Regions from separate parts of the Homo sapiens genome. Here region 2 is linked to region 1. Evidence: promoter capture Hi-C in 16 types of primary human blood cells and fetal thymus (Javierre and others, 2016). All regions are on one chromosome and are shown on one strand. Each heading gives the region's core, a stretch centred on a gene start or on the middle of the fragment in contact. The rest is flanking DNA. Distances are from core to core; before and after follow the strand shown.

Region 1 (4,964 bases), core at 23-2,522:
TTTCCGCAATATCCTATGGGTTATACAGGTCAGTCTTATTCTTGGTGGGAGGTGACTACAGAGGGGTATGGATATCAGGAGCCAAGAATCGTCAGGGTTTATGGTGGAGGCTGGTTATCACACTCTCATCTAGGTTTCTTTTTCTCCTACTACTTGCCCCCCACCCCTTCTTAATCATGGAACACTGTTCTTTGCCTTCAAAAAACTTATCCTGTTATATGATTACACATTCATTTAATTAGTCTGTCTCCCTCCAACGGACTGTAAGCACCACAAGGGCAGAGACTGTATGTGTCTGCTTTAGCACTGTGTCCTCAGTTACAAGGACAAAGCATAGAGTACGCGCTCAGTGAATGCTTTTTGAATGAATTATAATGATTTGCTTCTGTCTGAATTACAAGAGGTGTTTCTGTTTGTCTCCTCTCTGCATTGTAGGCTCCTAGCTCAGGACCTGGCATAAAATTAAGGAAATGAACGTGAGAAACACTTTTGAAATAGTGACAACACATCCAGATGAACATTTTGCAGGACAGCTACACACCCGTTTTAGCTCACCAGCTACCAGTTGTGACTGTGCTCTGCTCTGGGAGATGGCTTAGCTTTGCATAGGACAAAATTCTAATCTAGTTTCGCGCAGTTCTTACGAATTTGTTACAATGAGACGGGCCAAGCTATACAGCCCATTGCGATGAATAAGTAACTTTTTTTTTTTTTTTTTTTTTTTTTTGAGGAAGAGTCTCATTCTGTCGCCCAGGCTGGAGTGCAGTGGCGCGATCTCGGCTCACTGCAACTTCTGCCTCCCGGGATTCAAGAGATTCTCTTGCCTCAGCCTCCCAAGCAGCTGGGATTACAGGCGCCCGCCACCACGCCCGGCTAATTTTTGTATTTTTGGTAGAGACGGGGTTTCACCATGTTGACCAGGCTGGTCTCGAACTCCTGACCTCAAGTGATCCGTCCGCCTCGGCCTCCCAAAGTGCTGGGATTACAGGCGTGAGCCACCGTGCCCAGCCCCGAGAAGTAATTTCTTTTGTTTTCTTTTTAATTAAACAAAAATGTTGCTGAAACGAGCTGAGTGATATAGGAGCTTAAAGAATTGACAAGCTCTAGATTTCATTTCCCCAAACCTCTTTGTCCAGCTCGAACCCACAGAACAGGGACAAAAGTCGACAAAACCCAGCGGTGCCTCACCCAGAAACCTGGCAACGCGGGCGGAACAGAGCCGGTTGGTTGCTCAGTGCGCGTCACTTCCGGGACTCAGGGTCGCAGGGAACTACTTCCGGGGGAGCGGCGCGGCGGCGCGGGAGGTGAGTGCCGCAGCTTTGCGGTGGGGTGGGAACCGAGAGAGAGCCGTCCTCGGTGCGGTGGCCTGGCTTTCCCGGCCGGCCTGTCTCCAGCGGCGCCGCTTGGTGGGCCCGGCTGTCGCTCCGCTCAGGGCCTGAATACGTTCCCTCGGCGGTTGTTCGAAAGTTACTTCCGGAGGGGAATTTGAGCCCCCCGGGAGGCGGAGGGCCTCGCCTGGGGCAGCCCTGCGCTTTCGTGCGGAGGCTGGGCCAGAACCCAGGGCTCCTCATGGCCTGGTCCGGGCCTTTCCTCCCACGGGTGGAGCAGTAGGAGAACCCTGAGCTCCAGAGTGAATCTGGCCAGGGTTCGAATCCGTATGGCTCTCTTACCGTGGGCAAGTCACGGTTCCTCTCTGGCCCTCAGTTTCGTCTTCTAAAATGGACATACACGCTTGTACTGCGGGGTAAACCGAGGTGGTGAATGTAAAGCCCTTAGTAGGTGCACAGTCCATGTTTGTTGTACGAATTCTAAGAGAAGCGAGAAATGAATATGAGAAACATTTTTAAAATGGTGACAACACATTTAGATTAATAATTATATTTTGCAGGGCATCTGCACACCAGTTTCAGCCCACCGGCTACCAGTGTGACTTTGCCCAGAGAGGTGGCTTAGCTTTGCATTCTAATCTAGTTTTGCGTGGTTCTTAGGAATTTGTTTTAATGGGACGGGCCAGGCTGTACAACCCATTGCCATAAAGCGGTAACTTCTTTTTCTTTCCTTTTTTTTTTTTTAAAGCCATTCTATTTATTTATTTAGAGACGGAGTCTCTCTCTCGTCCACGCTGAAGGGCAGTGGCGGGATCTTGGCTCACTGCAACCTCCGCTTCTTGGGTTCAAGCGATTCTCCTGCCTCAGCTTTCCGAATAGCTGGGATTACAGACGTGTGCCACCACGCCCGGCTAATTTTTGTATCTTTAGTAAAGACAGGGTTTCACCATGTTGGCCAGGCTGGTCTCAAACTCCCGACCTCAGGTGATCCACCCGCCTCGGCCTCCCAGAGTGTTGGGATTATAGGCGGGAGCCACCACACCCGGCTTTTTTTTCTTTTTAATTAAAAAAAAGTTGAAATAGAGATGGAGTCTCACTATGTTTTCCTGCCTGGTCTTGAACTCCTGGAGGCAAGATATCCTTCCTCCTGGACCTCCCAAAGTGTTTGGGATTACTGGCAAGAGCCACTGTGCCTGGCCTAAAACAGTAACTTCTGACACTGGTTTCTATTCCCCAGTCTGTTTTCAGCTGAATTTTCACAATAGAATTTAAAGTTACTTCATTAGAAGCCAAGAATGGCCTACCAGCACAGTACACAACATTGGGAGATGAAGGCCTGTGGCAGTCGTGAAATCTGAGTTTTTCAGTCTTAAGAGAAGATTTAGTATTTGCTAAGTCTTGAGAGCTATACTTGTCTCAGTGGTTTTTTATTTATTTGTTTTGAAATGTTGACCCATTCTTTTTTTCCCCAATAACCTTTTTGTTTTAGAATAATTTTAGATTTACAAAGTTATCGCAAAGATACTTCAGTGAGTGCCCATATAGCCCACGTTTCCCCTATTACTAATATCTGAAATGTCACAATTACTGAACCAATATTGATACATTATTATTAACTCTAATCTGTACTTTATTCACATTTCCTTAGTTTTTCCCTAATGTCCTTTTTCTGTCCTGGTATTATCCAGGGCACCCTATTACATTTAGTCATCATATCTCTTTAGGCTCATCATCTCTGTGATCGTTTCTCAGACTTCCCTTGTTTTAGATGAACTTGAGGGTTTTGAAGATAGTACTGACTGGTCAGATATTTTGCAGAAGGACCTTTAATTAGGATTTGCCTGTTTTTGACATGAGTAAGATCAGGGTAATGGGTTTTTGGGGAGGAGGACCACTGATAGGGTTCGGCTGTGTCCCCACCCAAATCTCATCTTGAATTGTAGCTCCCATAATCCCCCCATGTTGTGGGAGGGTCCTGGTGGGAGACAATTGAATCATGGGGGTGGGTCTTTCCCATGCTATTCTCCTGATAGTGAATAAGTCTCAGGAGATCTGATGGTTTTATAAAGGGCAGTTCCCCTGCACACACTCTCTTGCCTGCTGTCACATAAGACATGCCCTTGCCTCCCCTTTGCCTTTTGCCGTGATTGTGAGGCCTACCCACCCATGTGGAACCGTGAGTCCGTTAAACCTCTTTTTCTTTATTAATTACCCAGTCTCGGGTATTTCTTCAAAGTGGTATGAAAATGGACTAATCCAACCACAGAAGTAAAGTGCTATTCTCATCACATCATATCAAGGGTACATACTATCGATATGAGTTATCATTGTTGACATCTGTTAGCTTGAGCCACCTGGCTTGAGGTAGTAGTCAGGCTTTTCCAGTGTAGAGTTACTTTTCCTCCTGCACTTTCCGCACTGTACTTTTGGAGAAAGTCATTATGTACAGCACACATTTAAGGAGTGTGGAATTATGCCCCATGCTTAAAGGCAGAGTATATAATGCAAATTATTTGGAGTTCTCTGTGGGAAATTTGTCTGTTCCCCTATTTTTTGCTTACAGAGTCATATATTTGTATCGGTGTGAACTCATGGATTTGTTTTGTTTTGAGACAGGGTCTCCCGCTGTCGCCCAGGCTGGAGTGCAGTGGTGCAGTCTTGGCTCACTGCAACCTCCACCTCCCGGGTTTAAGTGATTCTCCTGCCTCAGCCTCCTGAGTAGCTGGGATTACAGGCACCTACCACCATGGCTGGCTAATTTTTGTATTTTTAGTAGAGAGAGTTTCACCATGTTGGCCAGGCTGGTCTTGAACTCTTGACCTCAGGTGATCCACCTGCCTTGGCCTCCTGATTACAGGAATCCCCTCTCCTGGGATTACAGGCGTGAGCCACCATGCCGGGCCTGAACTCATGGATGTTTATTTTATACTTTGGACCAGAATCCAGTACTACTTTATTTTGTTGCTGAAATTGTTCCTCCATTGGCCATTGGGAGCTCTTCCACTTGGCTCCTGTATCCCTTTGACATATCCCCCTCTATATGTTTTGCTTTGTTTTGTTTTGTTGAGCACTTTCTTTCTATTCCAGACTCATCTGGTATGTTTCTGCCCCAGTCCTAGAATTAGCCATTTCCCAAGGAGCCCTGGCTCCTTTTATTGGAGAATGGCCCAGAAAACAAGATCTGGGCTCTAGGTATGCTCAGTGCTTCTCAGTGTCCTTGCTTCTAGGCCTTCGCAGTGGACAGAGTAAGAGACATACGTATATATGCACAGATCTAGAAGTATTTCCATATATAACCACCTGTATCTACGTTCAGCTAAACATAACTGATGTCCAACTCTTATCCATGACTGCATGGATTGTTCTAGCTTGGCAGTCCCCAACCTTTTTGGCACCAGGGACCGGTTTCATGGAAGACAATTTTTCCACAGACCTGGGGGTGGGGATGGTTTTGGGATGATTCAAGTGCATTACATTTATTGTGCACTTTATTTCTGTTACTATTACATTGTAATATATAATGGAATGATCATACAACTCACCATAATGTAGAATCAGTGGGAGCCCTGAGCTTGTTTTCCTACAACTAGACAGTCCCGTCTGGGGGTGATGGGAGACAGTGACAGATCATCAGGC
Region 2 (4,917 bases), core at 1,280-3,779, 740 kb after region 1:
TTTGTTGTTGTATTGTTATCTTTTACTTTTTATTTTTTTCAAATACAGTTGACCCTTGAACAATGTGGGGGTTAGGAGTGCCAACCCCCTCGAGCAGTCAAAAAATCTCTATAAATTTTGACTCCCCAAAAACTTAACTATTGACAGCCTACTGTTGACTGGAAACCTTACTGATAACATAAACAGTTGTTTAACATAAATTTTTTATGCTGTATGTATTATATGCTGTGTTCTTACAATAAAACAAGCTACAGAAAAGAAAACGTTATTAAGAAAATCACAGGCTGGGCCCAGTGGCTCACGCCTGCATCCCAGCACTTTGGGAGGCTGAGGTGGGTGGATCACCCGACGTCAGGAGTTCAAGACCAGGCTGGCCAACATGGTGAAACCCCGTCTCTACAAAAATACAAAAATTAGCCAGGCATGATGGCAGGTGCCTGTAATCCCAGCTACTCAGGAGGCTGAGGTGGGAGAATCACTTGAACCCGGGAGGCGGAGGTTGCAGTGAGCCAAGATCGCACCATTGAACTCTAGCCTGGGTGACAGAGCGAGGCTCCATCTCAAAAAAAAAGAAAGAAAGAAAAGAAAATCACAATTACTATTCATTAAGTGGAAGTAGATCATTACACAGGTCTGTCTTCATCTTTGTCTTCACCTTGAGTAGGCTGAGGAGGAGGTGGGTTGGCAGAAGGGAAAGAAAATCTGCATATAAATAGATGGCCGCAGTTCAAATCTGTGTTGTTCAAGGGTCTACTGTATTTTCAATCCACAGTTGACTGAATCTACAGAGACGGAACCCATGAATATAGAGGGTCAACTATAATTGTATTAAGCATAAAAGGTCTAAATACATCAATTAAAAGATTGAGATTGGCGGAGTGGATTTAAAAACATGATCTAACTACACGCTGTCTATAAGAAACTCACTATGCAGAATTATAGAGGCTGATTGAAAATCAAAGGATGGAAAAAGATATTATCATGTAAGCATTAATCAAAGGAAAGTAGAAGTAGCTATATTAGCACCAGATAAAGTAGACTTCAGAGCAAAAGAAAAAAAATTACCAGAGACAGAGTACAATGAATAACAGGTATATCTACTAAGAACATACTGCAATCTTAAAATGTATATGCTGTAAAATGTGTGAAACAAAAATGGATAAAACTAAAAGGAGAAACAAATTCACAATAGATGGTGGTGACTTCAATATTCCTCTCTCAACAATGGATAGGATAACTAGACCAAAAATCCACAAGGATATAGAAAAACCACCACCATCAACCAACAGGACCTATGACATTTATAGAACACTCCATCCTACAATAGCAGACTACACATTCTTTTGTTGTTGTTATTTGTTTTTTTAGACAGGATCTCACTCTATTGCTCAGGCTGCAGTGCAGTGGCTCGATGATGGCTCACTGCAGCCTCAATTTCCTGAGCTCAAGCAATCCTCCCACCTCAGCGTTCTGAGTGGCTGGGACTCCAGGTGCATGCCACTATGCCCAGCTAATTTTTGTATTTTTTAAAGACCGAGTTTCGCCATGTTGCCCAGGCTGTTCTTGAACTCCTAGGCTCAAGTGATCCTCCTGCCTTGACCTCCCAAAGTGTTAAGATTACAGGCATGAGCTACAGTGCCTAGCCCACATTCTTTTCAAGTGCTCATAGAACATAAGACAGATGATTATCCTGCCATAAAACAAACCTCAACAAATTTAAAAGAACTGAAATCATACAGAGTGACATTCCCCAGCCACAATGAAATCAAGCTTGAAATCACTAACACAGAGATAACAGGAAAATCTCCAAATACTTGGAAACTAAACAACATGTTTCTAAATAATCCACGGAACAGAGAGGAAACCTTAAGGGAAATTAGAAAAAAAATAGGGAAATGAATGAAAATGAAAATATGACACACCAAAATCTGTGGATACAGCTATAGCCATGCTGAGATGTAAATTAATAGTACTAAGTCATATATTAGAAAAGGGGAAAAGTCTCAAACGAAAAAGGTAAACTCCTACCACAAGAACCTAGACAAAGTAGAGCAAAATAAAGCAAGCAGAAGAAATAATAAGGAGCAGAAACTGACAAAACTGAAAACAGAAAACACAGAAAGTCAATGAAATAAATAACTGGTTCTTTGAAAAGGTCAATAAAATTGACAAACTTCTAGCAAGATTGACAAGGGAGTGAGTGAGCAAGAGAGAGAGAGAGAGAGAGAGGAGAGAGAAGAGACGAGACACTGATACTGGAAATTTCCAATATCAGTAATGAAACGGGACAGTACTACAGACCCTGCAGACATCAAAGGGTAATATGGGAATGCTATGGTTTGAATATCCGTCCCTTCCAAAACTCATGTTGAAATTTAATTCCCAATGTATTGAGAAGTGGAGTCTTTATAAGCCCTCATAAATGGATTAATGGGTTATCATGGGAACTGGTGGCTTTATAAGAGCAAAACAGACCTCAGCTAGCACACTCAGCCCCCTGGCCCTGTGATATCCTGCACTGCCTTGGGACTCTGCAGAGTCCCCACCAGCAAGAAAGTTTTTTACCTGATGTGGCCCTGTGACCTTGGATTTCTCAGCCTCCATAACTGTAAGAAATACATCCTTTTTCTTTATAAATTACCCAGTTTCAGGTATTCTGTTATAAGCAACAGAAAACAAAGACAGGGAATACCACAAATAGCTTTACCCATATAAATTTGACAACTTTGATGAAGTGGTTAATTCCTCAAAAAACACAACCACAATAGGAAAGAGATTATTTTAACAGCTTTATAACTTTTAAATAAACTGAATTTGTCACTTAAAAACTCCAGAAAAAAAAGGAAGAAGGGAAGGAAGGGAGGGAGGGAGGAGGGAGGAAGGAGGAAGGAGGGAGGGAGGGAAGCAGGGAGTGGAGGGAATCTCCAAACCAAGATGGTTTCATTGGAGAATTCCGCCAAACATTTAATGAAGAATTAACACCAATTCTGCACATACTCTTCTAGAAAAAGAAGAAACACTTTCCAATCCATTTTATAAAGCCAGTATTATCCTGATACCAAACCAAAGGCAATACAAAAATTAAAAAAATCTATAGACCAATTTCTCTCATGAGTATAGATGCAAAAATCCTAAAGAAAATATTAGGAAATTCAGCAGTATGTAAAACACACACACACACACACACACACACACACACACCATGATAAAGTGGGGTATATTTCAGAGATGCAAGACTGGCTCAATATTTGAAAATCAATTAGAGTTGTTAATACTAACAAGCTATTAACAAGCTTAAGAAGAAAAATCACATAATCATATCATCCTCACCTTTCAGACCTCTATATGTTGAAGAATCCTAGGACTCAGTCTCTTTTTACACCTTATTCCGTTATGACTCTCACATTTTTATCTCTAACCCAGATAGCTCTTCCTTGAATTCCAGACCCATAAACCCAACTGCCCCTTAGACATCTATACTCAGATAGGCATTTCCAAATGGACATGTCCAAATACAAATGCTTGCTCTTACTCTCCAAACCCACTCTTTTCTGTAATTCAGTAAATGGAAGCGCTATTCTTATAGTTGCTTAGGCCAAAACCCTTGGAGCTATCTCAACTCTCATATGTCTTTCACACCCCATATCCAATCTATCAGCGGATCCTGTTACCTCTTCCTCTAAAATATCCCCAGAACTGTCCCTTTCTTACCACTTCCACAGATACCACCCTGGTTTGAGTTATCCTTTCACCTGGGTTACTACAACAGCTGCCAAACTGGTCCTTCCTGCTTCTACCTTTGCACTCTTACTGTCTTATTTTCTACCTAACAGCCACAATGCTCCTTCTTTGTGCAAAACTGCCCAGTGGACTTCATTTCATTCAGAGTAACATCTAAAGTCTATACTATTGCCTACAAGTCACCATGTGATGCAGTCCCTTCGTACTTTTCTGAACTAATTTCCAGCCACCCTTCTAGTTCATATCACTCCAGCTTTATTGTCCTCTCTGCTGTTGCTCCAAAATGCCAACAATGGTATAAACTTGGTTTTCCCTCTTCCTGGAACAATGGCATATGGCTTGTCTCTCAAATGACATCTTATCAATGAGGCCTTCTCTGAGAAGCATAAGTAAAAGACTACCCACCTACACATATACATTCCTTATCCTCCTTATCTCCTTGATTTTTATTGAAGTTACTTACCACTTTCTGACTTATTCTAAACTTGCATGTTTGTTTTTCTATCTTTCTCAGTAGAAAGTAAGTTCCTGAGAACGTGGATTTTGTCTGTTAGCTTAGAAGAGTGCTTTGGACATAGGTGCTGAAAAATTATTTTCCGAATGAATGAATAAACTATTGGTTCAGGAGGCAAGAATTTGGGATCAGACATAAGATAACCCTAATTTGACTCCTGGCTCTGCTATTTCCTAACTATGTCCAAGTACATAGGGTACTTAACCATGCTTTACATTTTCTCGTCTATCAAATAGTGATTGTAATAATTTCAACTCCTAAGACTGATGTAAGAATTAAATTTAAAAAGTATGTAATGTGCTTAATAGACAGTGACTTGGTATAAAAGTGCTCAGTATATGACAGTGTTATTAATATGGAAAGATGATCTAGATTTCGACACAAAAGCCCTCAGTTATGACTAGATACTCACTGTATGATTTTAGGTTACTCACCTCTTTTACACTAACTCACTTGATAAATCAGGAACTGGGGCCAAAAAGATGGCTAAGTTGCAGCCCCTTCCCTCAAGTCTTAGTAATGTGATCTTGGGTAGGTCACTTAACCTCTCTGAGCCTGTTTCCTACGCTGTCCAAAGGGGGATAATATAATACCTCACAGCTTTGTTGTGAGGATTAAATGAGTTACTGTGTGGGAATTGTGTCTAGCACATAGTAACCTCT

Evidence for each region. Contacts are between HindIII fragments. The CHiCAGO score rates a contact against its expected background, and 5 or more counts as called.
Region 2: a contact is called between a fragment that was not itself captured here and the fragment with the promoter of MANBAL in region 1, in 1 of 17 cell types (total B cells). The highest score is 5.2, in total B cells.

Annotation. Positions count from the first base shown.
Region 1 is chr20:37,288,383-37,293,346 of GRCh38, forward strand. MANBAL (mannosidase beta like) reads left to right here and starts at 1,273. Exons shown (of 3, transcript NM_001003897.2): 1 at 1,273-1,304. RefSeq lists enhancers at 1,061-1,170, 1,243-2,147, 3,376-3,485. The HindIII fragment of the contact is 7,246 bases long and covers 1-4,964 here.
Region 2 is chr20:38,027,362-38,032,278 of GRCh38, forward strand. The region is part of intron 1 of TTI1 (TELO2 interacting protein 1); the gene reads right to left. Among named protein-coding and RNA genes, the nearest start is that of TTI1, 3.6 kb to the right of the region's middle. The HindIII fragment of the contact is 1,523 bases long and covers 1,769-3,291 here.